2 separate regions of the Homo sapiens genome follow, and region 1 is linked to region 2. The links are contacts of gene promoters, found by promoter capture Hi-C in blood cells and fetal thymus (Javierre and others, 2016). All regions are on one chromosome and are shown on one strand. The core of a region is centred on a gene start or on the middle of the fragment in contact, and the rest is flanking DNA. Distances in the headings are between cores, read along the strand shown.

What was found. The method cuts DNA at HindIII sites, captures the fragments that hold promoters and counts their contacts. A CHiCAGO score of 5 or more calls a contact.
Region 1: a fragment that was not itself captured here is called in contact with the fragment with the promoter of SAP130 in region 2 in 1 of 17 cell types (total CD4 T cells); the score reaches 6.3 in total CD4 T cells.

Annotation. Positions count from the first base shown.
Region 1 is chr2:127,504,432-127,508,174 of GRCh38, reverse strand. It overlaps IWS1 (interacts with SUPT6H, CTD assembly factor 1), which reads left to right. Exons shown (of 14, transcript NM_017969.3): 3 at 2,423-3,491. Among named protein-coding and RNA genes, the nearest start is that of IWS1, 20 kb to the left of the region's middle. The HindIII fragment of the contact is 2,101 bases long and covers 1,443-3,543 here.
Region 2 is chr2:128,025,565-128,029,641 of GRCh38, reverse strand. SAP130 (Sin3A associated protein 130) reads left to right here and starts at 1,583. Exons shown (of 21, transcript NM_001330301.2): 1 at 1,583-1,702; 2 at 3,344-3,461. The coding sequence starts at 3,350. RefSeq lists silencers at 896-1,045, 1,296-1,815, 1,916-2,255, 2,316-2,605. The HindIII fragment of the contact is 20,582 bases long and covers 1-4,077 here.

The DNA of each region.
Region 1 (3,743 bases), core at 1,244-3,743, 520 kb after region 2:
CGTAGTAGACATGAAATACATTCTTGTTGGATTAATTTTTCCTCACCTTATGTTATTCCCACTTAAGGCCTTTATTACTCATTTAACAAATACACGTTGAGTATCCCTTATCCAAAATGCTTCAAATCAGAAGTGTTTTGGATTTAGAATTTTTTCGAGTTTTGGAATATTTACTTATACAGAGTGAGCTATTTTGGCGATGGAACCCAAGTCTAAACACGAAATTCATGTGTCTTATATACATAGCTGGAAGGTAATTTTACACATTATTTTAAATAATTTTTCACATGAAACAAAGTTTGTGTTGGGTGCTTATGTGTGGAATTTTCCACTTGTGGTGTCATGTCAGTGCTCAAGAAGTTTCAGATTTTGGAGTTGTCTGAATTTTCAGATTAGGAATGCTCGAACTCTACCTAGTGTGTGTATGTTCTGGAGACCATTCTGCACTCTGAGGATACCTCAGGAAAACAAACCAAAATATGTCTGCCTTCCTAGAGCTTACAATCTAGATAGTTAAATTTTCCATCTGCATTCTTTTAAATTATGAAGTGTGGCTAAAGTAAACTTTAGGCAACATACAGACTATTGTACGGTAATTGTAAGATTCTATGATATCTCTCAAGTCCTAATACCGTTTTAATAGATAAGTGCCTGTTTCAGTGGGATAATAGAGCTTGTGACTGACAAGGAATCTAATACAGTACTGTGTTGAGTGCCCAGTGAGAACTCAAGAAAAATGTATTTAGGAATTTTGAAAAGTGTATGATTTTGGAAACTTACCTGAATGTGCTATATTTCAGTGACTGTGTATAGCAATGACTCTTTGCAATGCTGTGCTGTCATAATGGTGATAAAATATTTAAAAACTCTTCAAACATTGGCTTTGTAGGCTATTTTATAATTTTTCATATTCTTTTTGAATTTGTAGACACAGCATACTTGGGTTAGTAAAAGTTTGGGTTTTATGAGAACATTTTCAAGCCATTTATCTTGTCATTGACAAGAATAATCTTGTCACTTAACTGTTTCATAGCATGATGTTGGGCATATATATTATTAAAGGCTCTTTGGTCCTTGAAAATTGGTCTGTGGTAGGTTCACATAGCTTAAGTCATATATCTAACAAGAAATATTTGGCTCAGTAAATTTTTAAGAGGGTATACTCAAACACGGAAATACTTTCACTTTTTAAGCTAGAATATTATTGCCATGTTATTTAAAGTTGAGCTACCAGATGGGAGAAAAAATTCACCGGATCCTAAAATACTTGTTAGTATTTTGGCATGTTTAATTTTGTATATTTTTCTCTGCATTTTAAAGCCATAGCTATAATATGCACATATCAAGTTTGTACCCCAGGGCATGTTTTCAGAGTAATTATTTCAAGTAACATTATGTGTTGGTATAGTTAGATGAATCATGTTCTCCCTAAAACTTAAGCTTTCTTGTTTCTAGGGTTACTAGACACAGGACCGTGACTACTGTAAGCCTCAATTTTGTTATCATGAGAAGTACCATTATGAGGAGTAAATGAACTAACAGGAGAGAGCCTGTTGTGGTATTGGCTCTTAGTGGGTACTTAGGAAATGTTAACTTCTCCTTTCTTTGTTTGCTTAAATTATCTTGGGAGAAGGTGCCCATATGTTATTTGACCCTTTAAATAAAATTAAATTTTATAGTTCTTTTCCCTTAAATAATCTTAACCTTATAAAACCCAAGAATGTTCCTGTGTAAAAGAACTTGGTTACATGTTTGCTTGTATTTCTTTGAAAAATAGAGTTATTTATTTTTATTTATTTATTTTTATTTTTGACAGTCTCACTCTGTCACCCAGGCTGGAGTGCGATGGTGCAATCTCAGCTCACTGCAACCTCCGCCTCCCAGGTTCAAGTGATTCTCCTGCCTCAGCCTCCCTAGTAGCTGGGATTACAGGTGTCCACCACCACGCCCAGCTAATTTTTGTATTTTTAATAGAGACAGGGTTTCACCATGTTGGCCGGGCTGGTCTCGAACTCCTGACCTCAGGTGATCCACCACCTCGGCCTCCCAAAAGGTGTGAGCCACCTTGTCCAGCCTAGAGTTATATTTTTACAAAACAGAAGTATGTATGAGAAAATTCGCCTTTTAAAAAAGAAAAAATCTAGCTCTTCACGGTCAGTTTTCTGTAGTAATCTGAGGGCATGCTTTACAAATCTGTTTTGATGAAGGCTGGTTATATTTCCCCATTTGGGGATCCAAATAAAACCATTTCACTGATTGGCTTTCTGTGGGGGTGTTTCTATATGGGTATAGGACAAGAATTCTCCATTTAGGTGCACATAATCCTGTATTTTAAAAAAATCACAGAAAAAATTTAATGTTTTATTATTAATGGTTTTTTTTTTTTTGCACTTTCCTAATTTTTTCTCACTTTATTTTTCAGAATGAAACTAGTGATCGAGAAGATGGCCTCCCCAAAGGACATCATGTGACAGACTCTGAGAACGATGAGCCCTTAAATCTTAATGCTAGTGACTCTGAAAGTGAGGAGCTTCACAGGCAAAAGGACAGCGACTCTGAATCTGAGGAACGTGCAGAGCCTCCTGCAAGCGATTCTGAAAATGAGGATGTCAATCAGCATGGGAGCGACTCTGAGAGTGAAGAGACCAGGAAATTACCTGGTAGTGACTCTGAAAATGAGGAACTTCTTAATGGGCATGCAAGTGACTCAGAAAACGAAGATGTTGGGAAGCATCCCGCCAGTGATTCTGAGATTGAGGAGCTCCAGAAGAGTCCTGCTAGTGACTCTGAAACAGAAGATGCTCTAAAACCTCAAATCAGTGACTCTGAGAGTGAGGAACCCCCAAGGCACCAAGCCAGTGACTCCGAAAATGAGGAGCCTCCCAAACCTCGAATGAGTGATTCTGAAAGTGAGGAGCTTCCTAAACCTCAGGTCAGTGATTCAGAAAGTGAGGAACCCCCAAGGCACCAGGCCAGTGACTCTGAAAATGAGGAGCTTCCCAAACCTCGTATCAGTGACTCAGAAAGTGAGGACCCTCCGAGGCACCAGGCCAGTGACTCAGAAAATGAAGAGCTTCCCAAACCCCGAATCAGTGATTCGGAAAGTGAGGATCCCCCAAGGAACCAGGCCAGTGATTCGGAAAATGAGGAGCTACCCAAACCCCGAGTCAGTGACTCTGAGAGTGAGGGGCCTCAGAAGGGGCCTGCCAGTGACTCAGAAACTGAGGATGCGTCCAGACACAAACAGAAGCCAGAGTCAGATGATGACAGCGACAGGGAGAATAAGGGAGAGGATACAGAAATGCAGAATGACTCCTTCCATTCAGACAGCCATATGGACAGAAAAAAGTTTCACAGTTCTGATAGTGAGGAGGAAGAACACAAAAAGCAAAAAATGGACAGTGATGAAGATGAAAAAGAGGGTGAGGAGGAGAAAGTAGCGAAGAGAAAAGCTGCTGTGCTTTCTGATAGTGAAGATGAAGAGAAAGCATGTAAGGAGTTACCTTGGGCTGTTTATCAATGGCTTTATTCATTGTCTAAGCTTGTAACTGTGGAACATTGTATCCTCTTGGTATGTCAGATCTGTGTTCTGTTATTCAGCTTAATATTCTAAAATATCAGTAGGACACTCATTTCCCCTGGTTATCATTAGCTAAGCTTAATAGTAAGTTTCCTTGGAGTTCTATTAGCACATATTAATCTCTGACTGCCTCAAAGTGATAAACCACATGTCAATAGGAATA
Region 2 (4,077 bases), core at 334-2,833:
AACTCCTGACCTCAGGTGATTCGCCTGCCTCGGCCTCCCAAAGTGCTGGGATTACAGGCATGAGCCACGTGCCTGGCATATATATATGTTTAGTGGGGTGTGGTGGCATGCGCCTGCAGTCCTGGCTACTCAGGAGGCTGAGGCAATAAGTTAGTTGAGACAAGGAAGTCGAGGCTGCAATGAGCTGTGATCACGCCACTGGACTTCAGCTTGGGCTGAACTGAGAACCTGTCTCAAAAAAACAAAAAACAAAAAGGATGACATTTGAAACTGTGGAAATACATTAAACCATTTAGGAAGGCAGTATAGCATTAGCGTGTTGGAGCCCTGAAGAATGCTGTATTTATGAGAAAGAGGAGGTATAATGGAGCTTGACATAGGAGTAGAAGCAGGAGACAGCCTGGTTCTAGAGGCCAAGGGAAGACATGAGGAGGAATTACTACTGGTCAGTAAGCTAAACAAGATGAGATCTAAGTGAGGACCGATGGGTTTGAAGTTGAGTAGGTGTTGGCAACTTTTGGGGAGCAGTCTGAGAAGAGTGGCAACTCCAAAAGGGATAAGGACTGCCTAGGCAGAGAGGAGGCTGAAGTCTATCACAGGAGTCACTCTTTAGAAGTTTGAGAATGAAGGCATGAAGGTGGAAAAGGAAAGTGGCTTGAAGAGGAGGAGTATCTGAGACTCATCCCTGGGCTATAGCCAGGAGCTACTCTCTTCTAACCAAGCAGTTGTCTTACACAGCTGTGCATGATAGGAAGAGGGGGGTTTGAGCCCCATTTATTTCCTAACTAATCACAAAACTCCAGGCCTAAATTACCATCTGGTAAGGGAAGAGGGAGACTTAATCTCTTATCAGACACAAATGTGGCCTCAAAAGATATGGCTAAGTCTTCTACAGGTGCATAAACTCCAACCCTGAACCCCAAGCAAAATGACAAAATAAAACTGCCCCCTTCAGCTCCTTTATAATCCGGAAAGCGCGCGCAGGTGCGCCCCGGCCGCCCAGAGCCCTGCGCCCTGCCGGCCTGCTTTCACAGAGCCGCGCCCGCGCTGCGCCTGGCGGCTCCCGCCGCGCGTAGGCTGTGCCGACCGCGGTTCCCGGTGGGGACACCGAGTCCCACTCGCGGCATAGGGAGGCGGGCACCGTCACGACACTGGCCCGGCCCGCGGATCCCTTGGCCGCCGCAGTTGGCCTCCATTACCCTTTCCCGCGCCGCGCCTCCCCGCGGGGAAAATGAAACCCAGTGCCCTCAGGTTAAGGCATAGGGTGGGATCCACTGTCTTCTCACTTAGCCAAGAGAAAAGGCAGAACCGACTTCAGACAGCAAAGGGGTGTGTTGCCCTGGCCGGGTCGCCTGCGGCCCCGCCCCGGCGCTCTCCACCTCCTTCGCGGCCCGCCCTCCTGACTCCGGCGACTACATTTCCCACAGGACGCCGCGGCTCAGAGGGGCGGGCCCGTCCGCTCTCCCGCTCACGACCACCGGCGACTGGCTGACTCGGCAGGGGGCGGGGCCTGCGCCAGCCAATAGACGGGAGGCTCGTTACGGCGGCGGAAGCAGCGGCGCTGGAGTGAGGGGTGGGGGGCAGAGTGCTAGCTCCCCGGCGGTGGCTGCGGGTCCGGAGCCTGGGGACGTCGGCCCCACAGACGGAGAGCGCGCGGGAGCGAGCTCAAGGCGGCGCGGCGGCCACTGGGCGCAGCACCCAGGTAATGGCGGGACGGGCGCCCGGGAGGGAAGGGGAGGAGACGAGGGGGCGGGGCGGCTGAGCCGGGCTGCAGCGTCCGTCCCGTTGCGCGTCCCCGGGGAAGGGCAGAGGATCCTCGTCTCCTGCGGCTCGGACCGCGGCTCTTTCGCGAGCTGGTCACGGCGGTTGGGCCGGCGACAGGGGCTGGGTGTCCTGTGGCGAGGAAGGGAGAGGCACCGGGAGGGGTGGGCTGACCCGGGCGTGGGGGCGTGGCGGACGTGGGCCTTGGCGGGGAAGCAGAGCGGCCGGGGGAGCGCGGGCGGGCGGGCGGGCGGGCGGCCGGCCCAGGGAGTTTGGCTCCTGGAGCAGTTTAAAGTGACTCTCCACATCCGGGCCCTGCGCCCGCCGCTTTCAGACCCTGGCTGAGGCGGGGCCTCCCCGCTCCCCGCCCCCTTCGCCGGGGGCGCCTGTCTTCCTCTGCCATTGGCTCAGCCTCGAGGGGTTTGGGCTGCCCCGGCCAGGCTCGCGCCTGATTGGCTGGCAGTCGGCGGGAGGGTGGGGCGGGCTCTGAACGTGCAGGTCGCTGTGGATTGGTCCTGGGCCTCCACTGACGCGTCGGGCGTGGGGCCAATGGGCGGGCGGGGGAGGCAGGGGCAGGTTCGGGGGAAGAGGACTGCGAGCACAGCGGCGGCCGGGTGGCGGGGGTGAGTGGGGCCAGCGGGGCTGGACAGCAGCGGGCCCCGGGCGCCGCCGCCGCGATCCCTCCCCGCGCCCGCCGAGCACATCGCCGCCGCCGAGATGGGCCCTCCGCGGCACCCCCAGGCCGGCGAGATAGAAGCGGGCGGTGCGGGCGGCGGGCGGCGGCTACAGGTAAAGAGGCACAGTGCTCGTCTTGTGGTCGGGTCCCCAGATCGCCCGTCCGCACCCCCACCCCGGAGACGGGGGTCTCACACTCCGAGGTGTCTGGAAACCGGCGTCCTCCGGTCTCAGCGGGGGCTTCGCGGTGGGGTGGGGTTGCGGGCGAATCGGGAGATCGCTTGGCTCCTGAGGGAAAAGTGGGGGGCGATTTTAGGGAAGATGGAGAAGGTGTAGGGTCCTCTGGCTCTGTGAGGGGATCTGTGGAAGAGAAGGAAAAGGAAATCCGTAAATGGAGGCCTTTGCCGAAAAGCATTGGAGAATTCCTTTTGCATCGGGTCTGGATGTAAGATATCGGATCTTTTCTTAGGGCTGGATATCTTCCTCCGAATGTTCCTATGACATACTAATCACAGTTCTGTTCACCTTGGTGTGAGATTTGAGTGTTTCAAAGAGACATGCCATTTTCCATAAAACTTTACACAGAGAAATACACATGCATTGTGGTAATACCTGTCATGTGACTCTTGTACAGGATTCAATGGTGATTTTTTTAGCATAGCAATCCACAAGTATTTATGGAGGGTCATAGTACCCGCCAGCTCCGTATAAACAATATTTGTAGAAAACTTAGGTAGTTTAGATAATGTCTGCATTTATATTGATCCCAAGTTATTGTTTTTAAATAAATGATGCAGCATTTGCTTTTCCAAGGGACTATCTCATAGGTACTAAAGATGCTTTAATTTCTCAGTATTGATTCAGATCTCAGAATCTAGTAATAACCATATAACTGTATGTACTACAGGTGGAAATGAGTTCTCAACAGTTTCCTCGGTTAGGAGCCCCTTCTACCGGGCTGAGCCAGGCCCCTTCTCAGATTGCAAACAGTGGTTCTGCTGGATTGATAAACCCAGCTGCTACAGGTGAGATATGTAATATTCTAATATATTTTTTCCTACTTTAAGAATATTACCAGTTTTCTAACTTAAAAATTAGCAGATTCTTCTAGGATTTTAGTAAATTCTTGTTTCTTGAATTTGAAGAAAGGGTATATTACTATTCTAATTTAAACAAGGCTTTTTTTCCTTCCTGTTTTAACCACTTCATTCACATAGAGTACACATGCAACTTATAGCAAAGCGTGCCTGTAAGAACTGTTTTTGAAATGCATTAATATATTCTTGTTTAATTAATGTCCAGGAGTATAGCATTAGTGCTGTGAGGGAGCCCAGAGGTGTTTAAGGAACAGATCTTGTCTTTTAGGGGTTTATTATCTAGGAAAAGAAGTGGAAAACAAAGGATATGCGGTTTCCCTATGGTGTCTGTGGGGGATTGTTTCCAGGACCCACCTTAGATACCAAAATCCATGATGCTCCACTTTCTGATGTAAAATGGTATAGTGTTTGCATATTACCTATACCTATCCTCCAGTATATTTTAAATCATCTCTAGATTACTTGTAATACCTCCTACAATGTAAATGGTATGTAAATAGTTGTTATACTGTATTGCTAAGGGAATAATGACAAGAGAAAAAAG